2 separate regions of the Homo sapiens genome follow, and region 1 is linked to region 2. The links are contacts of gene promoters, found by promoter capture Hi-C in blood cells and fetal thymus (Javierre and others, 2016). All regions are on one chromosome and are shown on one strand. Each heading gives the region's core, a stretch centred on a gene start or on the middle of the fragment in contact. The rest is flanking DNA. Distances are from core to core; before and after follow the strand shown. Region 1 overlaps C9orf43 (chromosome 9 open reading frame 43). Region 2 holds the start of RNF183 (ring finger protein 183).

Evidence for each region. The method cuts DNA at HindIII sites, captures the fragments that hold promoters and counts their contacts. A CHiCAGO score of 5 or more calls a contact.
Region 1: a fragment that was not itself captured here is called in contact with the fragment with the promoter of RNF183 in region 2 in 2 of 17 cell types (erythroblasts and megakaryocytes); the score reaches 6.5 in erythroblasts.

What each region holds. Positions count from the first base shown.
Region 1 is chr9:113,419,525-113,426,861 of GRCh38, reverse strand. C9orf43 (chromosome 9 open reading frame 43) reads right to left here. Exons shown (of 14, transcript NM_001278629.2): 5 at 5,659-5,759; 6 at 4,277-4,313; 7 at 3,364-3,536; 8 at 2,546-2,696; 9 at 1,786-1,843; 10 at 1,442-1,518; 11 at 1,132-1,219. Among named protein-coding and RNA genes, the nearest start is that of C9orf43, 12 kb to the right of the region's middle. The HindIII fragment of the contact is 3,270 bases long and covers 1-2,968 here.
Region 2 is chr9:113,300,609-113,307,871 of GRCh38, reverse strand. RNF183 (ring finger protein 183) reads left to right here and starts at 4,496. Exons shown (of 5, transcript NM_001371237.1): 1 at 4,496-4,816; 2 at 5,559-5,677; 3 at 6,121-6,200. RefSeq lists a cis regulatory region at 205 and enhancers at 121-290, 2,056-2,225. The HindIII fragment of the contact is 12,929 bases long and covers 1-4,615 here.

The DNA.
Region 1 (7,337 bases), core at 84-2,583, 120 kb before region 2:
TCAGTGAGGACAGGCCACTGCTCTATGAACATGACTCACAGAGGCACCCCAGTCACCCAAGCAAAATTGCTCCTATTGGAGGCATTGGGAAGGGGTACAAAAGGCACCAGAACGGAATTCAGGGGAGTGGTAGTGGTCACCCTAGATGGAGTGTTAACCTTGGATACATCACCTCCTGCCCGGGGCCAAGCCCTGATTCTGTCCACCTCCCATAAGAAGGGCAGGAACCTTCCAACCTTCAGGTTAGAGCAGATCATTGGCATCAGACAACTAAGTGAGATGGGAAGGAAAGCAAGAGGGCAACATCCTTCTCAGGAAACCTCATCTCAGCCCTCCCAGTGCCCCAGGATTGGAGAGCTCTTTCTGATGATTAAACAGTTGTTTTCATATTAAAGTCAGCAATGTCCAGTCTGAGACGGGCACAACGATCCTCCAAAGTTTGGGGGGATTCTTTCTCCCTCCTCCCATTCTCCACTCAAGTTGAAAAATTTTGGAGGGATAGGGGTAAGTATATGCCTGAGCTCAGACATAATAACGACTCCAAAAAGGGGAGATGTCCATTCTTGTGTCCAGCATGAGCACTGGAGCAAAAGAACTGCCTGACAAGAGTTGGCTCCCTGACTCCTGGATGGGGCTAGACAATGTGTTGATTTTAACGTGAGGCTCCAGAGACTCTCTACCTTGTGGCAGGAAGGTTAGGGGGCCCCAGAGCTCTGCTTCCTTAGAACTCTTTTGGGGTTCTAGTGAGGGGCCCCAGCTCTCCCTGCCTCATTGGAAAATGGGCCCTCAGGGTTTTCTCTTCAGTAACCTGGGCTTGTTCCTCTCCTGATCCTCAAAGTGCTCTGCCTTTTCTAAGGTAGAACCTGAGGAAAAGATGACTGGGATTCATGTTCATGGTCATCTTTCAAGCCCTCATGTGAAGCAGACATCTGGCTCAGCTTGTTTGTTTAGCAAATTTATGAGGGAAGGATGGTGCATGAGAGACCAGACAGACTGAAGCATTCCAAGAAACTCTGAGTGCCTGACAAAGGCAGGTCTCAAAATGACAAGAGCATGTTTAGCTTTTCCTGCCCTCAGATACCTACCCCTCAGGGATCCTATCACCCCCAACCAAGCATATATTCCCCTTACCATAGAGACGGTCATGAACGGTGGTAACTGGATGTTTATGTGAAGTGCTCTGGATCCCTGGATCACTCTTGGCTTTCTTTTTAGCCTCCTGAAACCCACATCAGGAGGAACAAATTAGGATTTTTGGAAGTAAAGAAAACTTTTTTCAAAAGGAATATCAAAAAGAAGGAATTTAACATCTACAACCAGACAAGAACTTTTTATCTATAACCAGATAGAAAACAAGGAGACCCCCACCTTTCATACATCCCTTCCCATTCCAGGCTGTAGACCTCTCCCAGTCCCAGCAAGCCCCTCACTGCCACTCTACCTGTTTCTTAATAGGTGTTTTCACCTTCTTCTGTTGCTGCTGCTGCTGCTGCTGCCGCTGCTGCTGTTTCCTGTAACCTGGTGACCAGAGAGCCAGCTTGATCCTCTTCTAACAGCCCCCTCTCTCCCACTGGAATGCCTGCTGTGCCTTCCTTCACAATGGTGACTCCCTGGTAAGGACCAAGCCAGAGGGGCTGCTTCCTGAAACTATTGTTTCCTGAGTTCTACATGTGACCCTGTATGACTGTGGCCACAAATATAACTGAATTGGACCACGTTAAAGTATGAGAAATGTGGGCTAACAGAAAATGGTGCTTAGAGATCCAGCAGCAACAGCAAATCTACCTTCTGTCTTCAGGTTATGTAATTTCTTCAAACGTTCAGGATATCGCAGTGCTGGTCTCTGGAGAAAGAAAAAAGAAAAAGAAAAGCTCTACTGCAGGTCTTTCCCTTTCTCCAAATGTATCCCCCAAATGCGTTTATTCATCCAGTCAACAAGCACATTTTAAGAACCCAGTGTTTTGCAGCATTGTACCAGGGGCTACGGAGGAAGGGAAAAGGTGTGGGGAACAAAGTGCAGAAGAAATAGAGAACATGGCCAGGCATGGTGGCTCATGCCTGTAATCCCAGCACTTTGGGAGGCTGAGGTGGGCAGATCACCTGAGCTCAGGAGTTCGAAACCAGCCTAGGCAACATAGTGAGACCCTGTCTCTACAAAAAATTAAAAATTAGCCAGCCATGGTGGCGCACACCTGTAGTCCCAGCTACTCTGGAGGCTGAGGTAGGAGGATGACTTCATCCCAGCAGGTCAAGGCTGCAGTGAGCCATGATCAACCACTGCACTACACCCTGGGTGACAGAGTGAGACCCAGTCTCTCAAAAAAGAAAAAAAAAAAAAAAAGAAAGAAATAGAGAACATTGCTCTCTCAACACTTCCCCATCGACTGGCTTTTACATACATAGAGCCCAGCCTTCTCTGGGGCATGGGTTCAGAGTGGAAAGGCAGAAGGGAGATAAGGAATAGAATGTCAACTCTTCCAGATTTGAGGAGAGATGGGTTTGAATTTTCACATAGGCTTCTTCCCTGCTGTTTCCTAGCTCTTACTTCCAGGGTGAGGCGGTGTATAGATAGAAACATCTTAGAAGAAATCACACTGTCAGGTCGGTTCTTTTCCAAGGGAAGATTCTTTTTCATCATGGCCAATTTTATCTTCATCTCTGGACAGAGCATGGTTTGCTTTCCACCTGGCAAAAGTCTGAAGGGGACAGAGGACAGCCAGACAGTCAGCAACAGCTCTTCCCGGAAAGCATGGCTGAGGAGAAAGAGATGTAAAGGGCTCCAAGAAATTTCCACTTTGGGTCTGAAAAGGCCTGTACCAACAAGTGTTCATTTGGTAACACTTTTCTGATGCAACTACGATCATCATAGCTGCATATACTCAGTGCTGATTCTATGTCAGGCTCATGTGCTTTTACAACACCTGAGAACAGATATTACTCCCACTTTGCAAATGAGGAAAATGAAGCTTTAAGAGGCTAAATACATTACCAAAATTCATATAGCCAGTTAAGTTTCAATGTAAAATTCAAAGGTCATCTCACTGCAGACCACATATTCTGCCTACCACTTATTCATAATTCACCTATAAAAAGAAGACAGTGATAGTGCCTACCTCCTAGTGCAAATTTAAATGAAAGTACATGTGATATGCCTAGCACAGGGCCAGGCAAATGGTAAGTGTGACAAATGGTGGTGGTTATGATGGTCATCCCTGCCTGTTGGTAAGTCCAAGAGTTCAGTAAACAAATCGGGGTGATAGTTTTCTCCCAGTCCTACTCAGAAAAAGCACACTGTTTAGACCCATCCCAGCTTCAGTAAAAAGCAGGTGCTCTGGCTCTCCCACAGACCTACATGATACTTACTCCTTCAGTAGATCCTGAGGTAACGCTTCGGATTGAGCCCAGAGAGGTAGGAAATCTGAACTGAATTGTTCAGACAATTGCACTGGGGTTGGGGGAGGCACGATCATCCCTGGTGTTCCTACTCGTGTTCCTGCGGACTGATTTCCAGAGAGACCCAGAAATGACTTGCTTTTCTGGAAGAGAAACAATGGAAAGAATTCTCCAAAGCATTCTTTTTAGCCTAGTCCTTTCCATCAACATTCTAGCCTCTCAACACTACCCTGGCATGTACTCCAGCCATGGTTGCCTCCTCTGAACGATGAGGGCCGCCACATGTTTCCCTCTCAAGCTCCCAACTCTGTTGTTGTATTCAGATCATACAGGGATTCGTTGTTTTGTTTCATTTTCCAGAAAGGTCATTCGTTTACTCACTCAACAAACTGAACAAAAATTTATTGTCTAATTATGTGTCAGGCACAGGGCTAGGGATGGGGATTCAGCAATGAACAAAATGAACCAAGACACTACTCTCATGGACATAGCAGTCTTACAGTGACTTATCCAAGGTCACATTTACTCATAAATGGTACAATTAGAGTTAGAAGCCCAGGTCTTATAACCCCTAGTCCATTGAAATTCTATATGATCACGTTGGGGATTCGTTTTTAATTGACCAAAAACTCCCCCCCTGAACACGCAACAGTTCCTCCTATTATCTCAAGGTGCTCTTCATCTCCCTATAGGAAGGAGACAGAAAAAAGGAGTCTCTGAATAGAGAATGGTTTGGTTAATTATTCCTAAAGAAGGGTTTTCTTTAGCAGATTTGGATCATTTCAGGAAAGAACGGGGGTAAGGTGGAGGAGACCTGAAAGGAAAACAAAATAAACTCTACATAGCAATATTATAAAGGTTTGCACAAAAACATCAAACTCACCACTGCCGAGTTCTTTCTTTTCTTCTTCCCATGCTGGCTGGAGAAAAACAAAACAAAACAAAACAAAACATGCTTCTCAGCTGGACTTGAAATAAGAGTAAGCACAACTTATTCCCAGATATCTTAAACAGAAGCTCCAAGGATATTTGTGAATGATGACCACAAAGATTCCTATCTTTGATCAGTACTCAAAGATAGCTGGTTGGGAACCCAGCAGTAACTGCTGCCCAAGTACCTTCTGCTAAAAAGACCCCCCATCCTCATATCTAAATTAGGTTTCCCATTATTCTCTCAGGCAATCCGGTTACCTACTTTCATAGCATGAATCCAAATTAGAAATGATATATGTAGGTGTGGTTATGTCTGTAATGGCTGACTCCCCCTGACAAGGCTCCAACAGGACAGGGACCAAATCTATTTGGTTCACTAAATCCTCACTGCTTGACACAGAGATGTTTGGTAAGAAGTATTTTTTGCTCTGACCTCTTCCTCCTTGCCTGGGACGTGGATATGATAGCTGGATCTCTAGTAGCCAACTTATACCTTAAAAGCAGCCATGAAACTCCTTAGAAGTTGGAATCCATGGGCTAAGGATGACGGCCCAAAAAGCTAGAAGGAGCCCTGGTTTCTAATTATCTCATGGAGCTCACATGACCTAGCCTGCCTACTTCTGAGCTTCTTTCACACGAAAGGAAATAAACCCTTAGGGTTGTTTTTCATTTGTTTATACCATATATACACACACACAAATGCATATATATAGAGAGAAGCACTCACAGGATTATTTTTTAAAAAGAAAAACAAAAGAAATAAAAAGAAATTCTTAAGTTTCATCATCTCTAAATGTCACTTAAGAACCTGAAAGCCTCAAGGATCAGGAAAGAAGAACCAAACACTTTCCCCATGGTTGTCAATATTAGCAAGCCTTTGGGCCTTCACCAAATGGTCTTTGTCACACTCTTTTGTACACAAGTCCTATATGCTATTGCTTTTGTACACTGTACTAGGCCCTGGGGTTGAGAACAGAGATTCACATGCTTCACTGAGAACTTTTTCACTTGTTGCAAGTGGCTAATAAGAAAAACTAAGAGAGAGCATTTATTTCTTAGTCAAGCCTTATAAGTAAGTTGAGCCCTATCTTGTATGCTATTTACTGCCGTGTAAAATTTGATATGGAGAAGTCCCACAGCATGAATCTCAAAATGCATTACATTAAAATTCCAGTGTAGCAAAAGGCAGATGCAACAGACCACGACCTTCTCTGCTTGGCCTCCTGCTACTTGCAATGAGCTGGCTAAATGGGAGATCACAAAAAGGACGCTGCAGAAGACATCAGGGATTTATAGAGTCAAAGTCCTCTGAGTTCCAGATATGATACTCACCTCACATGTATCTCTGTTTCTTCTGGGATCCACAATACAACCATATTTCTAACATCTTCAGGGCAGGGAAGTTGCGTCTCATTCAAATTCAACACTGGAAACTAAGAGAAAGATATAAAGCCTATGTATGGCTTGAGGTGCTAAGCTCCTATATCAGATTAAGGATATGCTAAGCAAAGAGTCTGGTGGCACAGAAGATGATTTTAAGTTTCCCATCTTCAAGATATCTTCATAATATTCTCCCAAAAAAAACAGACTACTCCATCAAATATCAGTATAGGTATCTGCAAGAGTGAGTATTAATAAGCAGATAATCTCCCCTGCTTCCCTGTGCCATTAGGGTAGCATTTAGCAACTCCCAATCCAATCCCATATGAGGGTGCCCTGGGGCTTACCTACAGGAACATTACTTATCCTGCCCACTCCACTCCAAAGACTTAGATCCCACAGACATTACAATCTGCAGTTTGGGAGCAGGAAGAGAACTGATAGAAACAGAAGCAAGGTGTTTTCTTTTACAGTCTGACTACAATTATAGGCATTTATATAAAAGTCAAAGGCTAACTCTTCTCACATTTAGCTATTTAGGATCCTAGAACATAGTGCTCAAGGAAATCTTATAAATCACCTAGTCCATATTCCTGGTAAGATACACACACGAAAAAACTATTCAAAATAAGGTTGTCCCTGTGAAGACAAACTGATGGACTTGGAGGTAATAGGAGAGATTCCTTTTTATTATAAATCCTTTAATGCTTTTTGAATTTAAAAATCATGTTCATACATTATCTCTTCAAATAATTAACTTAAAATAATTTAATCTCGGCCAGGCATGACAACTCATGCACTTTGGTAGACAGAGGTAGGAGGATTGCTTGAGGCTGGGAGTTTGAGACCAGCCTGGGCAACATAGTGAGACCCTGTTTCTACAAAAAGTTTTTAATTAGCCAAGTGTGGTGGTGTGTGCCTGTAGTCTCAGTTACTCAGGGGTCTGAGACAGGAGGATGGTTTGAACCCAGGAGTTTGAGGCTACAATGAGCCATGATCATACCACTGCACTCCAGCCTGGGTGACAGAGAAAGACCCTGTCTCTTAAAATAATAATTATTATTGTTGTTATTATTATTTAATCTAATCCTCTTGTTCTAAAGAAGTCAAAGAGGTAAAGTGATTAGTCAATTCATCCATTCAAAACCATCTACCATCTCAGTTCCTTATACGCTCCACTACACATGATATTGAAAAGTGAAGCATCTCAAGAAAAAAATAAAAGGCATCCAGTAGTACTGCAAAGAATAGTAAATCTCTCTTTACCATAGTTAAGTAGGAGGGTTTTTTCTTCCTAAATTTCTAATTTAGCTCTACCCCTAACTAGCTGTGTGCTTTAGCTAATCACTACCCATCTCAGTTTCCTCACCTGCAAGATATATAAGATAGGCTGTGGTCTATCAAACCATTATAGTGTTCTTCAAACTGCAATTGCAACTTATTCATAGGTCATAAAATCAAATTTTTTGAATCACAGACCACATTGTTTAAAAATGAAATAGAATAAAACAGAATAGGGCAGAAAATATTAGAGTGCATAGTTAGGGTAAGGATTGTTCCATGGTATTTTTGTTGTAAAATCTATTTCTTACTGTAGATCATAGCTAAACACTTTGTAAGTTATCAGATGA
Region 2 (7,263 bases), core at 3,247-5,746:
CGGCCAGATTTTGCATTTCTAACAATCTCTAAGTGATGCCTATGCTGCCGGAACTGTCCTAAATGCTAGACAAGCCTCAGGCAAGGCTCTGAGTGATGATGACATGGTGGCCCCCTAGGGAGAGTTGCCCTCTGCCCTTGACTGGGGCCTGCTAAACACTGACCATGCCGGATTCTAAACCTGCTGCACTCATCACCTTTTCTCCATCCTTCTGCCCTCTGCCACCTCTTCCTTCCCAGATGAGTTAAAACCACCCCACGCCTCTGCTCCAGACATTGGCTGGGCTCCACCGAGTCTCATGACTCTTCACTCACCCGGGTCTAAGGTACTGCTTAGGTGAGGTGCTTTTCCAGATGGCTGATCTTGCCCCCACAAGCATGAACTTTATAAATTAGTTTAACTCTCAAGTTCCTGAGATGCCTCACTATCTCTCCCGGGTATCTCCCTGGAAAAATTTTTCACTGTTGGCAAAGCACTCCTTAGCCTGACCACCCACAGACATTATGATAATGCATAGACTCACTAGACAATTAGTGACCTGGAAAAAAGCCATGACTTTTTAAATTTTATTTTATTTTTCTGAGACAGAGTTTCGCTCTTGTCGCCCAGGCTGGAGTGCAATGGCGCGATCTCGGCCCACTGCAACCTCCGCCTCCTAGGTTCAAGTGATTCTCCTGCCTCAGCCTGCAGAGTAGCTGGGATTACAGGCACCCACCACCATGCCTGGCTAATTTCTGTATTTTTAGTAGAGACGGGGTTTCACCATGTTGGCCAGGCTGGCCTCGAACTCCTGACCTCAAGTGATCTGCCTGCCTCGGCCTCCCAAAGTGCTGGGATTACAGGCCATGCCTGGCTATGACTTATTTTATTTTTATTTCAATGCTTACAATGTCATGACTGACTTCTTACCTGCCCTACCTGCTTATCTTTTTAAGTTCTGGATACCCTGGTTGCAGAAAACTCAGACTTAACTTACTTTCTAAGTGAACTTTCTTACTACAAAAGTAATACATATTTGAGAACTTGGAAAATGTAAGCAAGAAGAAAGCGAAAACATGAGTGGCCATCACCCAGAGATAAAATTGTGACATTTTGCCTCATGGTCTTGCAGTCTTTATACATAAATTATGCTTTACAAAATCTGGCTTATGCTACATTCTCTCTTTCTTTCCTTTTCTTTTCTTTTCCTTCCCCTCCCTCCCTCCCTCCCTTCCTTCCTTCCTCCTTCCCTCCCTTCCTTTCTTCCTCCCTCCCTCCCTTCCTTCCTTCTTCTTTCCTTCCTTCCTTCTCCCTCTCTTTTCTTCTTTTCTTTCTTTTTTTCTTTTCTATCTTTCACAGGGTCTTTGCTCTGTTGCCCAGGCTAGAGTGCAGTGGTGCAATCTGGGCTCACTGCAGCCTTGACTTTCTGGGCTCAAGTGATCCTCCCACTTCAGCCTTCTGAGTATCTGAGACAACAGGCATGTGCCACCACGCCCAGCTAATTTTTTATTTTTTTATTTTTTGTAGCAATGGGGTCGCTAGTCTTGAACTCCTGGGCTCAAGCAATCCTCCAACCTCGGCCTCCCAAAGTGCTGGGATTATAGGCATGTGCCCAGCCAACATGCACCGTTTTTTTGTTTTGTTTTGTTTTGGTTTTGGTTTGTTTGTTTGTGTTTTTTTTGAGATGGATTCTCTCTCTGTTGCCTGGGCTGGAATGCAGTGGTGCAATCTCGGCTCACTGCAACCTCCGCCTCCCAGGTTCAAGCGATTCTCCTGCCTCCTTAGCCTCCCAAGTAGCTGGGATTACAGGCACCTGCCACCACGCCCAGCTAAGTTTTTTTTTTTTTTGTATTTTTTAGTAGAGACGGGGTTTCAACATATTGGCCAGGCTGGTCTCAAACTCCTGACCTTGTGATCCGCCTGCCTCGGCCTCCCAAAGTGCTGGGATTACAGGCGTAAGCCACCGTATCCGGCCAACATGCACCATTTTTAAGCTGCTTTCCCCCTCCATTTACAGTATACTGTGACCATTTTTAAAAGTCAATGAAAATCTTTCTATATCATTTTAAATGATTATGTAGTTTTTCACCTAATTGATGGGGTTTTGGAGTGTTTTCAATCATTTGTGATTAAAATAAAACTGCAATGAATATCCTCACTCAACCAAAATATATCTTTTTGATGCTTCTGGGGAATTACATGATTAGGTCAAAGTAGATGAACTTCTTTATGTTTTCTTATGTTGCCAAGCCAGAAAGCGTGACTTCCAAACTCTCAAATACAAACCAGGTTCTTTGGACTAAATCAGTGTCTCGAATCCCCAGTAACCTCAGTTAACCAGTAGTGACACCGAAAAGCAGGGAATTCCAGAGCTGAGAGGAACTTTGAGGCCATCGGTGATCATATACCTCGTCTCCAGCTCAGAAAGAGGAGAATTACTTAGACATTTTCTTTAGAGATCTAAAACTTCCCAAAGTCCACAGTTTTATTTTCACACAATTCTAGGCTAACTTAAAATCAGCATTTTTGCATTATTCTTTCATTCAATATTTATATATTTATAATGAGGGGGTTAGATCAATAGGGGATTGGTGAAGTGATTTATGGTACAGCCATTCAATGAAATCTGATACAACCATTAAAAAACCGAAGAAGGTCTTCTTTTTTTTTTTTTGCTCTGTCGCCCAGGCTGGAGTGCAGTGGTACAATCTCAGCTCACTGCAACCTCTGCCTCCCAGGTTCAAGCGATTCTCCTGCCTCAGCCTCCTGAGTAGCTGGGACTACAGGTGTGCACCATGACGCCGGCTAATTTTTGTATTTTTAGTAGAGACGGGGTTTCACCATGTTGGCCAGGCTGGTCTTGAACTCCTGACCTCAAGTGATCCACCCGCCTTGGCCTCCCAAAGTGCTGGGATTACAGGTGTGAGTCACAGCGCTGGGCCAAAAACCGAAGAAGGTCTTTATGTACTAATACAGAATGATATCTCAAATACATCATCAAATGAAAAAAGAAAAATGCAGAACAGTGTACATAATATGCACATTTGTGTAAAAAGGAGGTAAAGGAATACATAGATGTTTTGCCATGGACATGCTGTTTGTGTATGTATAAAACATCTTTGGAAAGATACACAACAAACTGATAGTATAATACTTTGATTTCCAGGGAAACTAGGTGGCTGCGAAGAGACAGTTTTCACTGTGAAATCAAACCATTCACATGCTCAACCATGTAAATATATTACCTATTTAAAAATCAAATGTGGGCACGGTGGCTCAAGTGTAATCTTAGCACTTTTGGCAAGTGGATTGCTGGAGCCCAGGAGTTTGAGACCAGCCTAGGCAACCTGGAGAAACCCCATCTCTACAAGAAATACAAAAATTAGCCAGCCACGGTGGCATGCACCTGTAGTCCTAGGTACTCAGGAGGCGGAGGTGGGAAGACTGCTTGACCCCAGGAGGTTGAGGCTGCAGTGAGCTGTGATCGTGCCACCGCACCCCAGCCTGGATGATAGAGTGAGACTCTGTCTCAAAATAAATCAATACATAAAAATTAATGTAAAAAAACACAAAATGCGGGGACTAGGGCATTTGATTACATCACCAAGCAGATACATTTATTTACTTGTTTATTTCTCAAGTATGGCTGAAAATGTCAGTAAAGAAATAAGGGGCCAGGCGCGGTGGCTCATGCCTGTAATCTCAGCACTTTGGGAGGTCGAGGCAGGTGGATCACCTGAGGTCAGGAGTTTGAGACCAGCCTGGCCAACAAGGCGAAATCCTGTCTCTACTAAGAATGTAAAAATTAGCCGGGCATGGTAGCGCGCACCTGTAGTCCCAGTTACTCGGGAGGCCGTGGCAGGAGAATTGCTGGAACCAGGGAGGTGGGGGTTACAGTGAGCCAGTATCGCCCCACTGCACTCTAGCCTGGGCGACAGAGCAAAACTACGTCTTAAAAAAAAAAAAAAAAAAGAAAGAAAAAAAAAAAGAAAGAAAGAGAGAGAGAAAGAAAAGAGGACCATAGGTACAAAAAGAATTTGAGCGGGAACAAAAGATGGGCCACGTGAACAGACCGGTTATAACAATAATAGTTCTGGTTAACATTTAGCGAGTTACTGTCTGCCAGGCCCTGTGTTATTACGCGATCTCGACACGTATTACCTCATTTAATCTACAGATCAAGTAGGTAGGTTATTATGGCCATTTTCAGGTGAGGAAACTGAGGCTGGCAGAAGTTAATTAATTTGCTCAAGTCTCCATCGGTAGTTAAACGGAGTTTGGATTCTCAGTGAGGGCTGAACTCTGACCTAGAAGTGTGCCTTGCTTGAGAACCCTGGCTCTTCAGGCAGACGCTCAACCGTCTCCCGACTATTTTTCTGCTGTATTAGTGGCCGCTTTTGTCAGTATTTTGCAAGAGCTATCTGTATTTTGGTTACAGGGACTCAGCATAGGGAAGGATCCATCTCGGCAGAAGCCAGGAGTCGAGGCAGGTCAGCGCACAGAGGACAGTGGAATCCGAGGGGATGGCAGGAGATCAATCGGACCCAGAACAGAGGCCTGCAAGGATGAGCGCACTTGATCCCCTCAGAGAAAAAGCCAGAGTGACTCACAGGAGAAAGACAAAGCAACCAAAGCTTCCAGGGTGTACAGGAGGTCCAAAGTCACCAGAAGGAAGAAGAAAACCTGAAACAGCGAGAGCTGGCCAAACGCTGCTAAGACCTATGCAAATAAGACCCACCCACGCTACCTGGAAATCGGGCCTGGGAAGTCAGAAAACAAAGCACATGCGTGCAGGGCTGCACGAACGGAGGCGGAGGAGGCGGCTCCGAGGGAGCAGGTAAGGAGACAGAGAGGGTCGCGGAGGGACGGGTCACAGGGCTCCAGAGTCCAGAGAGGCAGCAGCCGTGCAGCGCGCGACAGGTGAACTCTGGCCTGGGAGGGCAGGCTACTGGGTTCATCTTTCAAACTCAGCCACTCTTTAGCTGGGAAGACTTCGGCAAGTTGCCTCACCCTTCTGAGCCTTGGCTTCCCCATCTAGAAAATGGGTCTAAAAATAATCATGCTAACTCTGTATTGAGCGCCTTCCGTATTCTACTGGGCACCGTATAGACTATTCCTTCCCCAGAGCAACCTTGTAGGAGTGGGATGATTAGCCTTTTTTACAGAGGAAAATGAAGTTCAGAGAGGTTAAGCCATTTGTCCAAGACAAATTGTTCCAAATCTGGTTCCAAAGCCGGCACCTTTCTACTCCCCATTCAGCCTCTCTCACAGGGTGGTTTTAGAGTATCAAATGGCTTTCTGCAAACAACAACAAAAAATCCCAAAAGGCTAGTAACCTATCTAGATGGATCACCACACTTAGATCTTAGCAAGGGCCAGGGCCCTTTGTAAACTGTGAAGTGCTATGGAAATGCCAGTTCTTGGTTGAAAACAATGGAGTGATGCTGGGGACAATTGATATTTGGCGATGACTTGTTCATAGACCAAGGAGATGACTTTGGGGCGGTGTTTAGGATTTACTGTAGCTGAGATGTCCTGGCTTGGGGTGGAGGTGATACATGGCCAGAATCTCTCCCCAGCTGATCCTGAAACAGCAGTGGATCCCTGGGAGAGCAGCACAGATAAAGATCCAGGCAATAATGATGCTTCCTCCTCTTGGACAGCCTTTTACAGTTCTGGCCATGGAACTTCAGAGAAGGTAGGTCTGATTTGGGGGGAAACAGGAGATCTTGACGTGTAGTAATACAAGCTTACTGGATGGAGTAAAGTTAGAATTTTCAGGTAAGAGAATTAAAAAAAAAAAAAAAACTTATAATCTTGCCCCCAGAGATAACCACTGCTAATATCTGGTTGTTTATCTCTCCAGACATTTTTTCCATTGCACACACACTTTTGGAAATTGGATTATATGGTAATATGGTTTTGTTGCTGGTTCTTTTTCGCTTAATGACATTATATCCTAGGTATATATCCATATTAATAGTTTTACCACATCATATTAAAGGCTGCATAATATCTCTTCCTATGGATGGAGCAGAATCTACTTAATCAATGTCCTATTACTGGATGATGACGTAGTTCTCCATACGTCACCGTTAAACCAGCGCCTGGATGGGCATCTCTTTACTCACATCTTTGCAGAAGTCCTTGATGGTTTCCGTGGAATCGATTCCCAGTGGGGGAAATGATGAGTCAAGGTTACATACAGTTTACGGCCTCTGGTAAGTATTAAAGATCTGCTTCTAACACACTCTGGGATTCAGGGGCTTCTCAAAGCTTGATGCAGAGGACTTTGTCACGGCTTTGAAATCAACCTTGACCCTTCCTTTCTCTCAAATCCATTTGCATTAATAATTTCAACTGCCTCATATATCCATAACAATGTTTTGATCAACAGTGAATTACATATGTGATGGTGGCCACCTAAGATTATAATACCATATATTTACCTTGCCTTTTCTAAGTTTATGTTGAAAGACACACGCAATTATCATTGTGTTACAATTGCCTACAGTGTTCAGAACATAATAAGCTGTATGGGTTTGTAGCCTAGGAGCAACAGGCTAGACCGTATAGCCTAGGCATGTAGCAGGCTCTACCATCTAGGTTTGTGTAAATACTCTCTGTGCTGTTCATACAACGATGTGTTTCTGAGAACATAGTCCCATTTTTAGGTCATGCATTGCTTTGTGGTCTTTACTGGGTGCTGGGCTCTAACTAAAAGCTTTACTAGTTTTGGCTTCCTTTGCACAAGGAGAAATAGAGGCACAGAGAGGTCAAGCAATTCAACTGGAATCACAGCCCTAAATAGCCATGGATCTGGCATCATGAACCTTGACAGAAACTACAACTGGATCCCTAGAACTCCACTGCTTCTTGGGAAGTGGCTTTGATTCTGTCCCCAAAGATATCACTTATCCCATCCCCTTTTATCTCCTCTGCCACTGCCTAACCTGCACCACCATCACACGCCTGAGCCACACTGCTGCAGCCCGAACGGGTGTTCCCTTCCCGATCTTATCCCTCTCAGCCTGTCCTCTGCTCTGCAGCTAGAATGGTGTTTTAAAAATGGAAATAGGATCAGGTACCTTACCCTACCGCTCACCCCTGGAATAAAATCCAGATGAGCTCCTGAGTTCACAGGTCCCGAGTACTATACCCTCCCACCTTGCCTACTCCGGTCACCACACCTTGATCACCCTGGGCTCCTTTCACTTTCTCAAATTGGAAGAGCTTTTCTCACCTCGGGGCCACACATGCTGTTCCCTGGGCCTGCAACGCTCT